Regions from separate parts of the Homo sapiens genome. Here region 2 is linked to region 1. The links are contacts of gene promoters, found by promoter capture Hi-C in blood cells and fetal thymus (Javierre and others, 2016). All regions are on one chromosome and are shown on one strand. The core of a region is centred on a gene start or on the middle of the fragment in contact, and the rest is flanking DNA. Distances in the headings are between cores, read along the strand shown. Region 1 holds the start of JAM3 (junctional adhesion molecule 3). Region 2 overlaps NCAPD3 (non-SMC condensin II complex subunit D3).

The links. The method cuts DNA at HindIII sites, captures the fragments that hold promoters and counts their contacts. A CHiCAGO score of 5 or more calls a contact.
Region 2: a fragment that was not itself captured here is called in contact with the fragment with the promoter of JAM3 in region 1 in 5 of 17 cell types (activated CD4 T cells, naive CD4 T cells, non-activated CD4 T cells and 2 more); the score reaches 7.5 in activated CD4 T cells.

What each region holds. Positions count from the first base shown.
Region 1 is chr11:134,067,673-134,072,166 of GRCh38, forward strand. It overlaps JAM3 (junctional adhesion molecule 3), which reads left to right and starts at 1,400. Exons shown (of 9, transcript NM_032801.5): 1 at 1,400-1,487. The coding sequence starts at 1,412. RefSeq lists a silencer at 1,205-1,394. The HindIII fragment of the contact is 4,850 bases long and covers 659-4,494 here.
Region 2 is chr11:134,178,529-134,182,677 of GRCh38, forward strand. It overlaps NCAPD3 (non-SMC condensin II complex subunit D3), which reads right to left. Exons shown (of 35, transcript NM_015261.3): 20 at 2,549-2,656; 21 at 294-408; 22 at 106-213. Among named protein-coding and RNA genes, the nearest start is that of SNORD153, 29 kb to the left of the region's middle. The HindIII fragment of the contact is 429 bases long and covers 1,301-1,729 here.

The sequences.
Region 1 (4,494 bases), core at 150-2,649:
AACCCAAACAGTTCCTTCAGTTAGGTAAATATGCCTGGCCATGTGACCAGGAGCTAAAGGGAATAATAGGGAAAACAGAGGGCAGAAAAAAATGTCAGTGGGCATAAGACGAATTTTCTTCTTTTTAATTTCTCGATTTTGTGCTTGATAAAGGGAAAGAGGCCACCATTATAAAACAACTTTTACACACTTTTACTTGTGATTTAGTGCATGGTGACCTGGAACATAAAGAAGATTTATGAAAGGAAAGACAGAATCATAGTAGGTAATTGAGTTATTTTTTAATTTTTATTCTGTCTTTATAAGATTTTTGAGAAGGTAATCAATTAACATAAAGATCTGAGCAGTTATAAAGATTTACAAAGAAGATTATACAGTGATGGAAACTGAAGCATATTCTTGGCAACAATCTCAATCTATTTCACGTTTCCCGGCTTTTACATATATAAATTTGGTATACATAATATGTAAATATACTTCTATTTTGCATGAAAACTAAAAATACTAAAAAAGTAGCATGAGTATATGAAAAAGTTAAACATTAAAAATATTAGTTGGAAACTGGCTTATTTTACTAACAATTATATTCAGAATTCTGTTGCTAGACTGCTGTTTCTGGGAACATTGGAGGTGTACTTTCTATACTTGCTAAAATACAAGCTTTTCAAGTATTTTCCATAGTATTAAGTGAGACTTTAAATACTCTTGCTTTTTTAGATCTAATTTCTGCTTTAATTTATCCTTCTCTTCATTTTTCCTGTTTGTCCTCATCTTACCTGTTCTTCCCTGGTTTTACTATCTCCCAGTATTCAGAAATCAGAGCAAATAATTAGTCTGCTTTTCTGCAGAATAAACTATTGGGTATGCCATCATGCTTTTGATCTACCACATAAACAAATTATTTTAGCAAGACATCACTTTTATATGCTGTATAATGTATGTATTGCTTATGTTTTAAGCAGATTTCAGCTCTTTTCCTTCCATCAATTTGGAATTGGGGGCCCAAAAGATGTGAAGGCGATAATGCTTCCAAGATAACTGGGCTGCATCCTTATTTGTAAAATAAGAAATACTTTATTTCCCAAATTTTAAAGGAGTGTTCCTTCTCCGACCTGTTGTGATGGATTTATTCTATAGCTATGGAAATATACCCTGCTTCACTCTTGTACATACTTCTTTACTCTCCTCCCGCCAAGTTCATTGAAAGAGAACCCATGTGCCGGTCCAGAGCATCGCTGCATCCGTAAGCAGCTAGACCTCAGCTTCCTCTGTCACCATGGTGCCGGCTCGGCTGGGCCCGGCGGTCGCCATGGTAACTGGGGCGGGTCGCAGGGTCCTGGCAGGCTGGGCGCATGCGCGCGGGGACTACAAGCCGCGCCGCGCTGCCGCTGGCCCCTCAGCAACCCTCGACATGGCGCTGAGGCGGCCACCGCGACTCCGGCTCTGCGCTCGGCTGCCTGACTTCTTCCTGCTGCTGCTTTTCAGGGGTGAGTTTGCGCGTTTCCGCTGTTGGGAGACTAGGGTCTGGGGGCGACGGAAGCAGAGCGGGCCGAAGCTGCTGGAGCCGGTCCGGGCGAGGATAGCGGTCCTGGCTCCGAGGGCTCCCGGGGTCCCGGGCCGGAGGGGCGGCGCGCGCCCGCGTCCCCGCAGCCAGGGCTGGGACTCGGGCCTGGCTAGGGCGGGGGCCCTGGGACGCCCGGCAGTTGGACCGGGGCGGGGAGCTAATTTGGGATGGGGGGCCCGTCCCAGGCAGTGAGTCGGTCCCGGACAGCCGTCGGACCCCGGGGGCGGGCTCTTCTCGGGCGGGGTCCTGTGCTGGGCGGTGGGCTCATCCCCCGGGTGGGCTCCTCCCAGGCGGGGTCCTGTGCTGGGCGGTGGGCTCATCCCCCGGGTGGGCTCCTCCCAGGCGGGGTCCTGTGCTGGGCGGTGGGCTCGTCCCCGGGGTGGACCCCTCCCGGGCGGTGGGCACGGCCCTCTGGAGGGAGCGCGGCAGCTGCGGCGTGGGCGCTGGAACTTGCTGGAAGACCCTGCGCAGCAGTGCTGTGCTCTCCAGAAGGGACGGTGAGCGGGGGACGTAGCTGAGGACCGGCGAGGCAGAGCTCCGAGGCCTGGCGGGCTGCTTGGTCACAGCCCTCTGGGGATCTGCAGTTCATTTGACTCGACACAAAGGAACTGCTTTTCTTTTACAGAAATAAAATGGATATCAATCCAGTACCTTTTTTGTCTCTGGCCTGGCCGAGGAGACCACGCAGACTCTTATCCGGAAATAGCATTCGGGGCATTTGATCAAGACACACTAATAAACTTGATAGTTTTGTGCATTTTCTTTCCCTCTGTTTGGAATTCTCATTAGATCCACATTTTCCTGGACAGTTGTACAGAGGACTAAAATAGCTTTCCTTTAGTGAGCTTGTACTGTCTACTAGGCACTTTGGAGCCATTATCTCGTTTACTCCTTTCAGCAGCTCTGTGAGATAGGTTTCATTAATCCATTTTCAGAGTCAAGTCTAGTCTGCTTTCCAAGGCTGCATTCTAAGTAGTGAAGCCTCAACTTCATATTTACCTAAAGCAGGACACCACACTCTTCCCCTGGCAGCCATCCGCAGGTAACCAGACCAGGACCTTTTTCGGTTCTTAGATTATTTTATTGTTTGAATTGCCACTGTCATCCCATGATGTTTTCCAGAATATACAAATTAAAACACGGAGGGACTGTTTAGGAGTGAAGGTGGACAGATTTTGGAAAACAAAGCATTCCTGTGTTTGGTGCTTTATGCTAATGGGATGCTCGTGATGGGCTGTGACAAAAGATGAGTTTTAGCGTATAGATTATGTACGCTAAGGCAAAGTCTGTATACTTTGCCTGAAAGTGATTCCCAAAACCAAATGCTGTTGGGAGATAAGTGATCAAAGGCTAGCCAGGGGACAAGGGTGTCAGGAATGTCCAGCACCCGCTGTGTTGGTCACACTGACACTGTCCTATTCACAGCCTGGAACAACTCTCTATTGTTGAAAAGATCTGTTCACGTGAAAGTTTGCAGTTTTTGTTGCAGAAGCATTTGGCAGTTTAGCTCAGGAATGAATTTCAACTTGGTAGTTTGTTAATAAAACTAGAAAATGCAAAGAGCTTCACTTACCCTTAACCTCTGATTTCCTTCCCCTAAGGGACTAGTTTTGTGGCTTTTTTGCTGGTAGGGGCTGGGATTCACATGCAGAGCGTAGGAGGAAGAATCAAATTTTGCAAACTAGTTCTAATGACAAATAATCGAGGTAGTAGGATGTATGAATCCACTTTGAAGGCGTGTAGCTATCTTTTTTTTAGTAGGGGCTCTTTTTCCATTATTTGGTTTATGCTTTAAGCTACCCTAAAACTGTTCTTCCAGAAGTCATGACTACTGTGTCCTTTTTATTTTTTATGATTATTCTCAATTGCTATTACTATTTATTTTCATCTTAAAAATTTTGGTTCTTGATATAACAGCAAACATTTCTTTTGTGGTTACCCTTTGCCAGGCTCTGTTACAAGAATTTAATGTTTGCTAATTTATTTAATCTTGATAACTCTAAGAAGTCGTTACTATTGTTGTGCCCTTTTGTGGATGAGGGAACAGAAGTATGGAGAGATTCAGACCCTTGTCGGGAGTGTTATCCTGTGCGTTTTAAATGGGAAATCCTTCATTATTTGTGTTAATCCAATTTTTAGTTATTTGTATTATTCCATTTGACGGTGGAGTTCTTTTAATGGATCAGTTTAAACAGATTATCAAGTTTTCAACACTATGTGGTTTGTATATAAAATATTCTTTTGTTGACTCATGACAGGTGCAGTTCAGCTTTACAAATGTTATGCCACATGGCTTTTTTGAATGATTGTGTACTCATTAGTGTTAGGTTTCCAAATCTTTGATATTCTAGAGAGAAGTGCCTTATTTAGAATTAAAACAGCAACAGTTTTCATTCTTCAGATAAGACAACTTGTGTGCTGAAGCATATCAAAATCTGAAAATCAAAATTTCTGGGAAATTTTTGAAAAAATGTTTAATTCTTTTATTTGCATCTGTTTGGACTCCAGTAACGTTTTTTAGAATGGCATATTCTTTTATGTTCTAATTCTTAATTATCTGGCAGATATAATCATTGTCAGACTTGTGTGTATGTTTTAAAAAAAACAAAGAACACCTGTCTTGAAAGCATGCAGTACTTTATATCAGCTGCTCATTCCCACATGACTTGTTGATGGGCATTTGTTCTTCAGTGCTTCAGGCTAAGGAGACTGAATGGATAAGTACTAGAGATACTTAATCATAAGTAATTGCAGTATTACATTCAGGCAGAATTATCCACACAACCCCTAAGCTCCATGGAACTTGTTCTTAAACTCCATGGGGTGGGTTTAAATCAGTTCTTTTGAAAGCAACCAGACTTTCCTCAAGTATAAGATGGCCACATAATGTAACAGACGCAGCTATGGATTTAGTACATTCGACTAGCAGC
Region 2 (4,149 bases), core at 265-2,764, 110 kb after region 1:
CAGACAGGCTCCGCAGCCCCTGACACAGTCCCATGGCTGGGCTTACTTAAGACAACAGCTACACACAGAACGATGTCAAGCCCCATTCTCCCATGTTTTTCTTACCTAAGGTAATGATGGCATGTGCTCTAATCACAGAGGGCATGACAGAACCTCTGACCTGGGGGGGTGGCTGAGACGCTGGGGCCTCACTGCTGCCTTGAGATGATGGTGCTGCAAAGAAGGGAGAGAAAGTTACCGACAGAACCTTGAAACGGCATGCGTGCTACAGAGTATGATTTCAAATGCCTTACAGTGGTCAGCATCAGCAGACGAAGCCAGGACGGACTGAATCAGAAGGAAGATGCGCTTCTCCACCCTGGCTGGACACAGCTGGGCTATATCCCCTAAGGTAAAAATGTACTTCACCTACAAAGATAATTGGTTTTACAGTAAAAATAAGGCAAAAGAAAAGTGAACTCTAGCTAGATTAAGGACATGTCAATGGAGTATTTCCTTTATCCCCCAAATTTAAAACAATGTTACTAGTTTTCGTTTCATAAAAATACATGGCTATTGTAAAAACTTAGTCACTATGTAATGAAACTCATCCAAAATTAGGGCAAGCATATAATTTTATCATCTAAATCTAGACACATCTGCAAGTAAAAGGGGGTGCTATTAATAATTATTTTGTGAAAATAGGTGTACGCTAGGGTTATCTTGGGTAAACTGGGATACATCTACCTATAACCCTACCACCCAGAGACACCATTATTGTTTTTGTGTATAACTTTTTCAAAGTATTTCTATAGTCACGTGGCTTTATGTTTACTTTTCTTATACACTTACCAAGTATAGTATTTTGAAGTCTGCAATGATTACTTTGAATATTAGGCATCGTTTCATGTCAATATGTATGACACATATGTTTAATGACTACATAAGTATATGCCATTTCAAAACTAGGACTGTCGTCATAACTTACTGCACTATTCCAGTATCAATGAACACTGATGCTGTTTCCCTTTGCTAATGTTTCGATTAGCTCTGGTGAACACCTGTGTATCCTTAGATACTGCTCTCTTTCCTCAGAAGTAAAATCCAAGGTAAAGAGTATATAAAGCTATTTCACATTTTGAAACACATTTTCAAGTTGCCCTCCAGATTATTTTTCTATGTAGACCCCATCAAAAACCTACTCACAGCTGCCATGCTGTGTTTCTTCATAACATTCAGTTTAACAACTAAGTAATATTGTTCTTTTTTTATTTACACCCCAAATGAAGGGATGATGCTGAATAGTAAAATGTCAAATAAAAGCTTATTCTAGGGTAAGAAAGCCAATAACAAAGTATATGAGTTTAAAAGAATCTTGAAATACTGTATCTCTTCATTAAAAAAATATTTAAGTTCTATTTAAAGAAGCAAGAATGAAACTATGTATATAGGGCAAAACCTCTCCATATATATTTTGACTGAAGAGTAGATTTTGATGACACGGTTAACAGTTGAAAAAAACCTGGGGGAGGAGGGGTGGGGACAAGACTCACTGACCATAGTAAGCATCTTTCTTAATGTGGGCAGAAATGAGAAGAGCAAGACCCTCTAGAAGCCCTGGGCCAAGCCTGTGCTACACTCCCTGGTGCTCTTACCTAAAGCACCCAGGTTCCCATAGTGAGGCTCTGTATTCCTGATCACGTGCACAGTAGTGCCTCAGGCTCAATGGTCTTCTCTTTGAACAAATCTAAGCTTGGTCGGTGATCACTGGGCGTTAGGAGAGCTAGGCCAACAAGCAGAAACTGAACACAGAAAAGACGTGCTCCACTAATTTAAACATATGAGAAAAATGGCCCGTTTTGGTTAAATAATGATCTGTGCTGAATGGCATCAAAAAGCAGCTCATTATTTCCTTTACTGGACAAAGTCAGATGTTGGAACCAGAATTACTGCCATACATCTTATCCCCAGTCAGCCACTGAAATCAGCCCACTGTCCCGTCCTGGCTCACGGGAATTTCTTGCACCGTTTACAGTTTCTAAAGCAGGGGTGCCACAGAAAACAATCTTGGGGCTCCAAGGTCATCTGTGTTCTGAATTGTCAAATCTCTCATTTTATTTCAGTCATTACTTGGCAATTGCTCAGCACTGTTCCCCAGTTCTACTGTCTGATGTTCAAATAGCTCAGAAGACATGTTAAATTTTTAAAAAAGCAAACACACAAACCAAAAACACTATACTCACATTATTATTTCTTACCTTACATTTCTAAGCTTGACTATACCAACCTTACAACACATACTGTGTTTTCCCTACTGAAATCAGGCTTCTCATAAGACTGAACTAGATGAAGCGTATACCATTGAGTTTCCCCACCGATAAAAAGTATATAAGAAAAAAATGAATAGGTTATCAATTTAAAAATATCTTCTAAAAAGAGAAAGTAAGCTCTAGGCTAAGACAGCTCTTTTGTTAAAAGCATTTAAAGCGTACATGACAAAGTCATCTTTAATAGAACCTCACGGATAAAATGGAAGCGAAAAGAATGGTTAGGAAAAGCAGTCGCTTACCAACAGGTCTTCGTCCATATTCCCTGTTCCATTCTCCTTGAGAACGATGTTGGAGAGGCGGTGCTCGCAGGTGGAGAGTACATCCCCACACACCTGCGTCAGCAATTCCTACGGCAAGTCAAAAGTCATCTCTGAAGGGCCCCGCACATCTCCCAGACTACCCATGAAACACCATGTTCTCAGAAGAAACTATGATCTTCAAATGGATAGGCTGTAGGGGTGCTTCCTAGCTTTCCTCTTTCCCACAATTTGTCCAAAACCACAATGACATGCATTTAAGCAATCTAGCCATGAGTACTGGCTAAGTGGAATTTATAAAGAACGGTGTATATATCATCTTTCTTTTTACATTTGCCCTATAAGAGCAAAAGGCCAAATATTTACAATGACCCCATGTAGTAATTTGTAAGAGATCTATAATAGTAGTGCTCCTCCAAAAATACAGAAATAAGCTGTAGTTTTGCTGCCATATACAGATGATGAATTAACTACTGTGATAAACATTTTTTAAAGACATAAAATAGAGTTGCTACTCTTCTGAAATTTATGCATTAGGGACAAGTGTTCCGTGTCTCTCACTGATTACAATAACTTCAAGGGGTGACTTCTAGTGCACATTGGACTGTTCCTCTATGCCAAGGAAGAGAGAGAGCTCCCAACCACATTCTAGAATTCTTGGACCTCATTTTCTGTAGGAAACCATTCCAAAACACCTAGGTTGAGCTAAGGGCCTCCACCCCCTTGCTTCCATGTTACCCGATGCCGACTTTTATTTTAGGAATGATGACATTATGTTGAAATTATCTGCTGATGTGCACGCACCTCCCCCACTCCTCTGTAGTGCCTTAGGAAGGGACCTGTGTTAACCATCATCCAGTGCCTGGCAAGCCACCACTATGAGCAATGCTTTTAGTCTGACTTGCCCTAACGTATCTGGAAACTATTGGCTTTATTACTTCTAAAAGAACTATTACATTTAAAATTTTAATAGATTGCACAACCTGGACCACAACATTGGCCCAAAGAGTTTCTGCAATTCTTATGCTTGATCCCAATGAGGCCAGAACCTGGGTACTAGGACTAGTAAGTTTCGGTATCACAGAATCTGGGAAAGCTGACAAGGCCACCCAATCCTGGCATTCTCTCCACATGGCAGCCTGTTCCAAGTCCTTGTCCAGCTTCTCCTGAATACCTCCAATAACAGGGGACATGCTCTGGGGCAAGCCCACCATTTTGGGCAGACCTCAGTAAGTTTTCTCTGCAGTTCACCAAAATTTATAATTTCCATTCATTGGTCCAGATAGGTTGTCTGGGAATACCAAATAAATCCAATTCTTTTATCTGAAAGTCCTTCATAAATTTGAATTTAGCTAGGCAGCCTACCGTCCCCAACCCTTCCCTTCTCCATGCTAAAGACTCCAGGCCCTTCTGCAGTTCCTTACATAACTTGCTTTGTGATACCCTTATTTAACTGCTCTCCTCTAGTTATATTCAATTTCATCAACACTTCTCTGTAAATTTGTCACTGATACTGAACTATCAGCCAGCACACAGGATCACTGCTCCTCTTGTTCTAGACACTATTTCTACTGATACAAGAT